Regions from separate parts of the Homo sapiens genome. Here regions 1 and 3 are each linked to region 2. Evidence: promoter capture Hi-C in human tissues and cell types (Jung and others, 2019). All regions are on one chromosome and are shown on one strand. The core of a region is centred on a gene start or on the middle of the fragment in contact, and the rest is flanking DNA. Distances in the headings are between cores, read along the strand shown.

What was found. The method cuts DNA at HindIII sites, captures the fragments that hold promoters and counts their contacts. A contact is called where the count stands out against the background at its distance.
Region 1: a contact is called between a fragment that was not itself captured here and the fragment with the promoter of TFF3 in region 2, in 1 of the 25 tissues and cell types used here (IMR-90 fibroblasts).
Region 3: a contact is called between the fragment with the promoter of C2CD2 here and the fragment with the promoter of TFF3 in region 2, in 4 of the 25 tissues and cell types used here (H1 embryonic stem cells, IMR-90 fibroblasts, lymphoblastoid cells and 1 more).

Annotation. Positions count from the first base shown.
Region 1 is chr21:42,813,815-42,817,840 of GRCh38, forward strand. No RefSeq gene overlaps it. Among named protein-coding and RNA genes, the nearest start is that of LINC01668, 36 kb to the left of the region's middle. The HindIII fragment of the contact is 5,053 bases long and covers 1-4,026 here.
Region 2 is chr21:42,314,001-42,318,067 of GRCh38, forward strand. TFF3 (trefoil factor 3) reads right to left here and starts at 1,409. Exons shown (of 3, transcript NM_003226.4): 1 at 1,293-1,409. The coding sequence starts at 1,374. RefSeq lists enhancers at 2,509-3,128, 3,129-3,747. The HindIII fragment of the contact is 18,141 bases long and covers 1-4,067 here.
Region 3 is chr21:41,952,111-41,956,224 of GRCh38, forward strand. It overlaps C2CD2 (C2 calcium dependent domain containing 2), which reads right to left and starts at 1,908. Exons shown (of 14, transcript NM_015500.2): 1 at 1,260-1,908. The coding sequence starts at 1,538. RefSeq lists enhancers at 880-1,654, 4,010-4,089 and a silencer at 1,531-2,200. The HindIII fragment of the contact is 14,094 bases long and covers 1-4,114 here.

The DNA of each region.
Region 1 (4,026 bases), core at 285-2,784, 500 kb after region 2:
GAAAGCTTTTCCTCTATTCTGATGTCACAATCTCCAAAGTTATCAGAAACCTGCATTGAAGAGCACCTGTTAGAGTTTTATAGCTGATTATAAAACCATCATTTTAATAGGACCAAAATAAGACAATTGTTCATGAATGACAAAAAATTTTAGGACAGCCATAGTCAAAGACACAATTGACAAGGAAACTTGTTACCTCTATGGCACACAATAATTTTAACATAACAATTATGATTATTTCTGATAATGTACACTAAGTTATATCAGAATTATAGGAGTTTCCCAAAATTTTGGAATACATACCAATAACGTATTTATACAAATACAGCCCAAAGAAAACCCAACACCATTTCATATTTGACAATGCTTCCTGTATACTTTTTGTACTAAATAAACCAAATTATGTCATTGTTTGGACTTTAGGGAACCTAATATCTTAAAGGATTAATTAGGTCAGAAAAAGACATAATTTATCATTTGATTTTGGAAAGTTTGTCAAATATGAAAGGTTTAAGACACTTGATATCACAAAGTAGGATCCCAGGTCATTGTAAGTCATTCATGCTGGGCATGGTAGCTCATGCCTGTAATCCCAGCACTTTGGGAGGCTGAAGTGGGCAGATCACCCAAGGTCAGGAGTTCAAGACCAGCCTGGCCAACACGGCGAAACCCCATCTCTACCAAAAATACAGAAAGTAGCTTGGTGTGGTGGTGGACACCTGTAGTCCCAGCTACTCGGAGGTTGAGGCAGGAGAATTGCTTGAACCCATAAGTTGGAGGTTGCGGTAAGCTGAGATTGCACCACTGCACTCCAGCCTGGGCAACAGAGCAAGACTCCATTTCAATAAAAATAAAATAAGTCATTCACTTAACCAAAGTGATAACAAGGATTTCAGGAAAAAGGTGAAAACCTTTATTCTTTGAGAGAGGAGACTTAATTTTCCAAACAATAATCCCTAATAAAAACAGCATGAATCTAATTAAATTTGTTGTTCAAAATTTTATAAACAATCTATAAAATTTTAATCTTGATCATAAGATATAGCTTCGTATGCCTTTTATACCCTTTATAACCTTTATTAAAGAGCCAGTTAATGCTTCAAGAAAACCTTGTTAATCTGACACAGGGGCCCAAATGCTTGTCTTGCATCAGTGTACCTTTGATATTAATGATTAATTTATAGATAAATTGAACTTATTTTATCTTTCAAAATTCGCTCTTACAATCTCATGCACCCACCTCTTCCACAATAGTCTCTGGGCCTTGAGGAGTTGAACAGCTTTAATTTTTTACTCTGTGTCTCAGGAATGAGTTTATTTTGACTGGCATCTTCTATGGGCCTGTAGATGAGGCTTCAATTGCTGTCAATGTTTAAGACTTAGCAGGACTAGGTGTCCTTTTTAGACCCAGGAGTCAAAGCCCTGTAATTCAGTGTCACAAGCACTTTAAAAGCACATACAGGAAGATACGTGGATGTAATAAACTTAATTTAAAAAATTTTTATCCCAGTTTTTTTTCCTAAGCAAACCAAAACTTAATAATGACAACTTGATCATATTAAAGTTTCAGGTTTTTTTTAATACATATATCCTCTTATTGAGACTTAACACTGACTGTTCATGACATGCTTGGACTTTGTTTTGTCCTGAATATTCCTCCTTCTTAAACAACCAGTCATTTTATTTTAGGACTAAATTTACCATAAAAAAATTATTTCTCTTTAAGCTTTCTTATGACAAAAAAAAACTATTTTTATAACTTTATCTCTGTTTTTATTTCCTGATTCCTTTTACCCTGTTGTATACATAACATTTAAATAAATTTTGAATTAGACAAAACTTGTTTACCTTTTCTAAAAAGGACACAGTTTTTTTTAGCAAAAATGTTTTCCTACAATATATATTTATTGGAAAATACCCAAATAATGCAGTATCTATTATTTAATTTTTTTGAGACAGTTTTGCTCTTGTCACACTGGCTGGAGTTCAATGGTGCTATCTCAGCTCACTGCAACCTCTGCCTCCTGGGTTCAAGCGATTCTCCTGCCTCAGCCTCCTGACTAGCTGGGACTACAGGTGCACACCATCACACCCAGCTAATTTTTGGGGTTTTGGGGATTTTTTTTTTTTTGAGATGGAGTCTTGCTCTGTTGCCCAGGCTGGAGTGCAATGGCATGATGTGAGTTCACTGCAAACTTCACCTCCTGGGTTCAAACGATTCTACTGTCTCAGCCACCCAAGTAGCTGGGATTACAGGCACCCACCACCACACCCAGCTAATTTTTTGTATTTTAGTAGAGACGGGGTTTCACCCTGTTGCCCAGGCTTGTCTGGAACTGAACTCAGGCAGTCCACCCACCTCAGCTTCCCAAAGTGCTAGGACTACAGACGTGAGCCACTGTGGTGCCCTGCCTCAGTTATTTCTTTATAGCAATGCAAGAAAGGACAAATATAGGATGGACTTGAGAACAGTAGACCTTATTACCTCATGTGGTTGCTATGAGGACAAAATGGGTTAATATTTTTAAAACACTAAAGGCAAGTCCTGGCACACAAGTTTCTATACCTGCTTACTAAGTAACCATTTTCCTGCTCTGCCATCCTTTGTGAAGTACCTTATGGGCCAAAATGGTGCTGAAGCACCAGCCATTATGACTGCATGACAGGAAGGAGGATAAGGCACAATATTTCCCCTCACACTTGGAAAAACAATTTTCTAAAATTAGGATTCCATCACCAAGGAGAAACATTCATTTTACTACACACTGCTGTGAATTTATCTCACTAAATAATGCTATTGTCTTTGTCCATTTTCTGTTGCTTATAACAGAATTCCTGAGGCCGGGTCATTTGTAAAGAAAGGGAATTTATTTCTTCCATTATGGAGGCTGAGAAATCTAAGGTTAAGGCACCACATCTGATGAGGGCCTTCCTGCTGGTGGGGACTCTCTGCAGCACAGGGTATCACGTGAGGGGCTGAGTGTGCTAGCCCAGGTGTCTCTTTCTCCTCTTATAAAGCCATTAATGCCACCACCATGATAACCTGTTACTCATTTACCCATTAACCCATTAATGGACTAATGCATTCATGAGAGCAGAGCCGTCAGAACACAACCACTTTTTTTTTTTTTTTTTTTTTTTTTTTTTTTTGAGACGGAGTCTTGCTCTGTTGCCCAGGCTGGAGTGCAGTGGCACAATCTCAGCTCACTACAACCTCCTCCTCCTGGGTTCAAGCAATTCTCCTGCCTCAGCCTCCTGAGTAGCTGGGATTACAGGCACCTGCCACCACGCCCAGCTAATTTTTGTATTTTTAGTAGAGATGGGGTTTCACCACATTGGCCAGGCTGGTCTCAAACTCCTGACCTCAGGTGATCCACTGGCCTTGGCCTCCAAAAGTGCTGGGATTGCAGGTGTGAGACACTGCCCCTGGCCCCAATCACTTCTTAAACTTAATCTCTACATTGGGGATCAATTTCTAAATGGGTTTGGGAAAGGACAAGCATTCAAACATAGCAGGTTCTTTTCCTCAACAATAAATTCCCATCTTCATTTTATTGGGATCTCACTGTCTGAGCTCTTTATTCTCTTTTCCCCAGGAAGATTGTGCTTGAGAAACAATCATCAAGTCTGTTGGTCCACATCTCCCGCGCACTCCCTGGATACCCCCAACAGGCCAATCCATCAAGCCACAGCTCAGTTTCCAGGGCTTTAAGAGAAGCAGAAGAAACGCTTCCACAGTCCTCATTGTGTGCAGGGAATGAGCATGAGTTATGGGGGCTCCTCAATGCTGAGCCTAGCCACCCCACTGCTGCATCCCCACAGCCCTTCCAGAGGGTCTCTATCCCTCCTTATCTAAGAGCAAATCCGGGCTCCATGTCACTGAGTGCTTACTCATCCCCAGGAAGAGGCAGTTGTTGCACTACGGGGTTTTTTTCTGTAATAAATGTCCTTTATTTTATCAGAGCATGGCACTGAAAGAAAAGAAATCAAATGTATAACTTGCAAACCAGTGGAGTGAGGAAAAGA
Region 2 (4,067 bases), core at 159-2,658:
TTGCCCCTTTGTTTTAAATGAAAACCGTGACAGGAGAGGCACACGCCATAGAGATCATTGCAACGCATGCTGCCTGCTTTTCACTTTTTTCTGCATCTCCCCTTCCTGAATTGTTGAGCATGTCCCACCCTCCCGGGACATCCTTCAGTCCCCAATATTTTCATGTTTCAGGCAAGCCTCTATGTCTGTATGTGCAGCAGAAGTTCACTGCGTTTCATTAACGAACTGAGTATTTCCTTAGGAAAATGGCAATCACGTGCAGTGTCTTACATTCCCTTCTCTTGCTCCCAGTCCGTAATTGCTTATCCTCCTGGCATCCAAACTTCGCTCACACTGGAATCAGCTGCAGAGCTTTAAAAATGACTGACGTTGGCTGGGCATGGTGGCTTACACCTGTAATTCCAGCACTTTGGGAGGCCAAGGCAGGAGGATCACTTGAGGCCAGGAGTTTGAGACCAGCTTGGCCAACATAGCGAAACTCCATCTCTACTAAAAATCCAAAAAATTAGCTGGGCATGGTGGTGCATGCCTGTAATCCCAGCTACTTGAAGCCGAGGCACAAGAATTGCTTGAACCCAGGAGGCGGAGGTTGCAGTGAGCTGAGATTGTGCCACTGCACTCCAGCAGTGAGTGACAAAGCAAGGCTATCTCAAAACAAAACAGCTGAGGCCTGGATCTTGCCTGGAGATGCCCTGATGTAACTGGTGTGCCCCAAGCATTAGGATTTTTAAAGCTCTCCAGGTGATTCTAATGGGCTGCAAGTTCGGGAACCACTGCCTTTGACCCTGCTCAGAAGACACCCAGATAAAAGCCATGCCCTCATTCCTTCAAACTTGGGTTAATGGAGCAGCCACACCCCATGGCAGGGTTGCTATGCAATGGCTAAATGAACCTTGTGCCTGCCGGTATTGACAGTGTTCTGAAGTCAGGGTTTTTCTCCTGCATCTTTCCTTTTTCTTTGTAAATGTGGAACAATGCATAAAGACCTATATTGTAATTTAGAAATCTCCAGCAAAGATGGCTATGGGGTCATAGGGGATGGGCTCAGGCTCAAACCCTGATTTCAACACAGACTGGGCAGGGCTGCCTTGGATAAGTTGTTAACTTTCTCTGAGCCTCGGTTTCCTTGTCTGTGAAATGGGGACAATAAAGACCCACTTCAAAGGGCTAGCGCAGGAAAAAGTGTATATGTGACAGGTGGCCATTATTAAATGAATGCAGAATCCCCCCTTATCCTGGATCCCTTCCCTTCACGCCCACCCTGCCACCGGGGCAGTCAGGGCAGTACTCACACAGGCCCACGTACTCCTCAGCAGAGCTGGAGGACAGCAAGGCCAGGACCAGCCCCAGCATGCAGAGCGCTCTGGCAGCCATGACCACCGTGGGCTCCGGGACGCAGCTCAGGACTCGCTTCATGGTCCAGGAGGCCTCATTTATGCACCGTTGTTTGCACAGCTGCTCTGGATTGTTTGCTTGGGGAAGGCTCTCCCTCCTGGCTGTGGCTGCTCCTGTTCTCTCCTGCATGCCTTTGTCAAGCTCCCAGACAGTTTTTCTCTCCCAAAGGGGAGAGGTCAGTTCAGCCCCCACTGTTTTGGCAGCAAGCGGTAAGGGCGGATTCCAGTTCTGGTTCCGGGTCCTCTACTGGGGAGCGGATGTGTGTCAATTGCCCTCCTAGCCTGGCCTGGTGTAGTGTGCAGGAGCCATGTGGGGTGGCAGGACCAGGGTGTGGTGTCCGTTCCATCTCAGCCTCCCAGCCAGAAGCCCTCAGAACACCCCTGGTCCCATGACAAGAGAGCCCCAGGCTGCTTCATCCCAGATCGGCCTCGGAGACAGGCAGCTCTGAGTGAGTCAGGACCCTGCGGCTCTCTCACAACTCCTGAAACACAGAGATTCCTTGTCTTTCCTTTTTGCTTTCTCCCCTAAAAATTAGTAACTACATTTTAATAAGTGGATGAAATGAATTGATTGAAAATATGTTAGTAAAAACATGGTACACATAATTGATTTTTAAAATCAAATAATACAAAAGAGCCTTTCCTATCCAGAGGCATCTATTGATCTATTGTGAACACTTTTTTAGGTATCCTTTCAGAATTTTTCTCTCTGGATCTAAGCACGTTTTTTTGGTTTGTTTTTGTTTGTTTGTTTGTTTTGTTTTTTTTTTGTTTTTTTTTTGTTTTTTTTTTTTGGAGACAGGGTCTTGCTCTGTTACCCAGGCTGGAGTGCAGTGGCACAATCTCAACTCACTGAGACCCCCGCCCTCGCGGGGCTCAAGTGATCCTCCCACCTCAGCCTCCTAAGTAGCTGGGCCACAGGCATGTGTCCAGCTAATATTTTGTATTTTTTTAGAGACCAGGTGTCGCCATGTTGGCCAGGCTGGTCTCAGACTCCTGGACTCAAGTGATCTGCCTTCCTTGGCCTCCCAAAGTGTCAGGATTACAGGCATGAGCCACTGCACTCGGCCACATTTTTAACACAAACAGGAACTGACTCTCCACCTTTGCCCAGCGTGCTCTTTTAAAAACTAAAGACTACATCTCAGGAATTGTTTTATAACAACATATCAGATGAGACAGCGATGATTCTATCCATTTTCCAGAGGAAGAAACTAAGACTCAACATTTCCGGTGCCTATCAGAGGTTACTCCAGTGTCCCTGGTATAGCTGGTATTTAACCCACTCCCAGGACCCTAAGCCTCCGCCCTCGGCATCCGCAGCATCCCCCAACCCCCCAACCTCCTGCAGTGGACTGGCTGGTAGTGGGCAAGAGACTAATCTCATTCCAGGAAAACGGGCCCCTAGATTTTGTGTTCTCCGTGTTTCTTTTCCAGGGAGGCATTTTGATGACCCCCACTGGCCCTTCCAGGAGCCTCTGTCTGAAGGGTGGACTTGGTTTATCACCCCGAGAAATGGGAGCGCCTGGCTGCTTGGATTTAGCCTGCAGCTGGGGTCCCCGGTGGTGTGTGCAGGGCGGCCTTGAGCCTCCAAGGGTGCATCCACAAACTGCCCTTCCCCGAGTGACCCATGGGAGCTCGATGGCGTACGTGCTGAGCACCAGGATGTGTCCTGCCCTGTGACTCCCAGGCCCCGCCCTTGCGCTCAGCACGCCCTTTGTGGATGGATTTGAGGGCCCCTGGCCTCTGATGTGCCACTCCCGCTGAGGCCAGCGAAGGAGGAAGAAGGAAAGAGCGTTGCCTGCCTTGTTTTCGGGGCACTCACTTTTTCTGGGAGACAGCGGACCCAGGTTCATCAATGGACAGCAGGATTTTCATGTTATTAAAAAGGTCATTGTAGGGGAAATCCCTGGGGGATCTGGTGAGATCTCCCTGGGGGATCTGGTGAGATCTCCCTGCCTTCCCACTGCTCCTAGTACCCAGAGGCCAGGCCAGGTCGTGGTGCAGGGCTGAGTTCCAGGAGGGTGCAAACACCCCAGGAACAGACTGCTGCCCCTCCGGCCCTCATGACCTGCTGGGGAAGGACCCCCGCAAGGAGCTTCTGCAGGTGCTGTGGTCTCCACCTGCTGCACTCAAAATTGCCTGGAGTGGGGAGAATATCAATGCCTGGGCCCCGCCCTGACAGGTGGTTCTGTCGCCTGTGATTCTTCTCTGCGGCCAGCACCGAGAACCCTGCTGGGGTTTGCTTCCGTTTAACTAGTGAATGTTGACTGAGCTCCTACTGCCTACACCCAGGGTTTAGGGCTGGGGAAGGAATAACAAAGGTGACACATTCTTGTCCTTGAAGAGTCCCCCCGCAAAGGGAGACGGGATCATGTCAGAGTTAAGATGGTGAAGCCAAGACTAGGTTCTGTGCTGCCTGACCTTGGGCAAGTCACGTCCCATCTGTACCTCAGTTTCCCTACATGTCACAGGGTGCTCACCCCACAGGACAGCATGAAGTGGTGCTGCACAGCCCAGCCAGGTGCCTGGGACACACACTGACCACCTGCCGGGTGTGCTGGATCAACCATGATGGCAGAGGAGAGGATTCCTGGTCCCGGCTCTGGTAGGAGCAAAGGCTGTGGCAAGGGGGCCAGAGCTGGGTCCTGTCAGGTGGAGACGCACAGGCTT
Region 3 (4,114 bases), core at 658-3,157, 360 kb before region 2:
TCCCTGAGACACTCTCCAGCTCTGGACAGCTGAGGCACAGATTCTGGGCACCAGGACAAAAGTCAGTCAACTGACCCTGAAGCCTTTTTCCTCCAAAAAGTACAGTCATTTATGTTCTTTTTCAAGAGTTCAAAACAAGGTCTCTTGATTTGTTGGATGGCTGCTAACTGATAGTCAAAGCTTTTTTGTTTTTTAATTCCATGGCCATGTCTTCCAAGGCCATGCACAAGGACCAGGCACAGGGCCCGCCATGGAATATTTTGAAGGTTGATGGGGCCGGACATTGAAAATGAGCAATTCTGCTATTTCCACAGCGAATGACCACTGAGCTGCACAGGCATGTGCAGGAAACTGTGGCCTGGAAGGGCGGAGCAGCGGCCAAGACTAGGGGTGCCTCCCCAAACCCACCCAGGCTCCAACTTCTCCTGTGAAATGCCTAAGAATAGTACATGCCAGGAGCTTGTCGTTATACTAAGATGTCTTAAAAGCAAAAATAAGTCAACGAGTAATCAGCGACTACAGAAACACCCACAGGACTGTGAGGCAGCAGAGGTAAGACACGAGGCCCTTAGCTTGCAGGCCAGGGCAGCTGGATTCACATGCCAGCTCTGCCGCCCACGAGCTGTGTGGCACTGGGCAGGCTGCTTGCCCTCTCCGGGCCTTGGTTTCCTCATCTGTAAAACAGTGATAACACCCCTGTCCCGGGAGTTGTGAGGATTCAGAGATGGCAGACGCACCGAAAGCCTCGGTAGGATGTCTGCCCAGCGGCTGGCCCTCAGCAAACGGTCACTATTTTTATATGCCAAGAAATGCAAGTCTTTGGAGATAAATTCTTGGTGAAATTCAGCTCTATGAGAGGCGGAAGCACATTGGGGTCACAGCTATTCATGTATCATGTGCAAGCTCAGTAAGTGTCCGATCGGGCACGGGAATTCGCCCCGGGACTCCAGGCAAGGCAGGTACTGGCTGGCGCGGATGAGCACTTCTGACGGTCCCTCCAACTGCCAGCCTGTCCCTCGCGGAGCCCAGGGCCTGGAGCACCTGCCGTTTGGAGAATAAAATCAATCACTTTGTCTTGTCTCTCCGTCAAGGGGCCTCGCTCCCCCGTCTCTCTCCTAACTCTCGAGGATGGTCTGCGCTGGGGGGAGGACTCCCTTAGCCTGGGTCAGGGGCTGCAGCGACGCCTCCAGGAAAGACCTCGGCCCGGACCGCCCGCCCCGGCATCTGCCGCCCCCCGGCCCGCAGTCCCGGAAACTCACCCCTTTCCTCTCGGCCTCCTCGTTCAGGGCGGTCACCCAGGCCGCCTGCCACTGGCTCCTCCAGCTGCCCAGCGTCAGGATCCAGGAGAGCAGCGCGTCGGACCCCGGGCGCGGCCCCTCTCCAGGCTCCACCGCCCGCCGCTGGGGCTGGGGTCGCGCCCTGGCCAGCGCCCACTGCGCCAGGTACAGGCCTACCGTGGCCAGGGCCGCGACGAAGAGCGACACCAGCGCGAGCCACTGCGCCTCCCCGAGCCACGAGCCCAGCCGGGCCATGGCCATGGCGCATCCCCGGCCCGCCTCGCCCCAACTTCCCCGGCAGCCCCGGGCCGGAACGGCGGACTCAGGACACGCGCTGGCTGCGGCCACAGCGCGCTGGGGGCGTGGAGGGGGCGCGGCGGGGTCGGAGCCCGGCGAGGAGCGTGGCCGGGGGCCTCTGGGCGGGCAAGCGGGGAGGAAACGCGCGGCGGCCGCGGCCCGGGCTGGGCGCAAGCCCCGCACACCTGCGGAACAGGGGCGCGAGCGGACCCCGCGGCCCGCGCTCCCGACTCGGCGTCTGGGAAGTTCCTGGGCCGCTGCGGGCCGCGCTTCCTCCTGCGCGCGCCGCCCCGGGCGTCCCGCCCGCGGCCCAGCGGTGGCCGGAGGAGGCTCTGGCCGCGGGGCGGGGCGGGGCGGGGGCGGTGCCCGAGGGAGGGGGCGCGGCCGGGCCTGCGGGGGCCGCAGTCCTCCCCCCTGCTCCCAACGCGGCGTGCCCCCGCCCCCCTAAAGGCCCGGCCTTCCCGGCCCCGCCACGTGCGCGCGTCGCCCGCCCCTCCGGCGCCTGCCCGCGGGCCGCGAGGTGACCCGGGCCTCCGGATTCATCAGCCCAACCCCGGCGGCTGCTGTGCGGCTGCTTGGCTTGGCTCGTGTGCGCGCTTGCACAAGTGCGTGTGTGTGCACATGTGTGAGTGTGCGTGTGCACAGCGCGCAGTCAGGGTGATTTCGAGGACTGCCATTTGCTCGCCAGCGAGACAGGATCCAGGCTCAGTCCTCGGAAAGTCCCTGGAAATCCGTGGCTGCCCCTGGAGCCAGGGGCTGGGCCTGCCTTAGGGGGCGTGCTTCTCAGAGGCAAGGAGGGGCTCAGCACCAGGCCCAGGCCCTGCCTTCTGTGTGGCTGTGTCATTCATTCAGTGTGCGGGTGGGGCGGGGGTGCATGTGGTGTGATGTGTGTGGCGCATGTGGTGTGATGTGTTGTGGGTGTGGTGTGTGGTGCACAGGATGGTGTGAGTGTGTATGTGTGGTGCATGGGTGTGGTGTGTGTGTAAGCGTGGTGCATGTGGTGTGGTATGTGTGTTGCGTGCCAGTGTGGTGCATGTGGTGTGTGTGATGTGTAAGCGTGGTGCATGTGGTGTGGTGCGTGTGTGGTGTGTCGGTGTGGTGCATGGGTGTGTGTACGTGTGATGTGTAAGTGCACAGCATGTGGTGTATGTGTGTGGTGTGTGGTGCACAGGATGGTGCGAGTGTGTATGGTGGTGCATGGGTGTGTATGTGTGATGTATAAGTGCAGTGTGTGTGGTGTGTGTGTGTGGTGTGTGTGTGTGATGTGTAAGCGTGGTGCATGTGGTGTGGTGCGTGTGTGGTGTCGGTGTGGTGCATGGGTGTGTGTACGTGTGATGTGTAAGTGCACAGCATGTGGTGTGTGTGTGTGGTGCATGTGGTGTGTGTGGTGTGTATGTGTGATGTGGTGTGGTGTATGTATGTGGTGTGTCAGTGTGGTGCGTGTGTGTGTGGTGCACAGGGTGATGTGAGCGTGTGTGTGTGGCACATGGGTGTGGTGTGGTGCTGTGTGTATATGTATTGTGTAAGTGCGTTGCATGTGGTGTGGTTTGTGTGTGTGGTGAACACGGTGGTGTGTGTATGTGTGGTACATGGATGTGGAGTGTGTGTATGTGTAATGTGTGAGTGCGGTGCATGTGGCGTGGTGTGTGGGTGGTGTGTCAGTGTGGTGCATGTGGTATGGTGTGTGTGTGTGTGGTGTGGTGTGTGGGACATGCCCCTGTGCCCTCCTCTTGCAGAGTGGACGCGGTCCTTAGGGAGTGCCATAGAAACATACTAGCCTGAGATTCTCCGGGGCCTAAAACAGGCCTAAACCATAAAAAAGTGATTCCCCTGTTATTTTCTGCAGCTGTATTAAGGGGACTTGACCTTGAAAGGAATTAGATAGACTGAGCATTTGGCCTTCTCTTCCCTAGCCAGGAGTCTGCTGCGGGGCCAGTGGATGGTCCATCAGAGGGGATTCTGGCCCTGAATCCGTGGGCCCGGATTTTCTTCAGGAAAGAGGAAGGAATGGCACAGCAGCTGGACGGAGAGCCTTTGTGGGGAACAGGATAGGACGCTGTCAGGGAGGTGAAATTAGACGGGGATTGCCCAGGTGAGCTGGGGATGGACCCTTGCGAGCCAGGTCTGTTATCAGAAAGTGGAAATAAGAATGAGACTATCCATCCTGGCTAACATGGTGAAACCCCGTCTCTATTAAAAACACACACACACACAAAACTCAGCCGGGCGTGATGGCGGTCGCCTATAGTCCCAGCTACTCGGGAGGCTGAGGCAGGAAAATGGAGTGAACCCGGGAGGCGGAGCTTGCAGTGAGCCGAGATCGCGCCACTGCACTCCAGCCTGGGCGACAGAGCGAGACTCCGTCTCAAAAAAAAAAAAAAAAATTAAGAATGAGACCATCAGCATCCTGCAAGTGACCCATGTGTTACACACGAGCGCTCCAGTCTGCCGCAGCCTCTTAAGGGTGGGGGGAACTGCTCTTCTTTTCTTCTATTCTGTGTTATTTTAGGCAGAAACAAAAGAAATCCCTTCTTATTTGG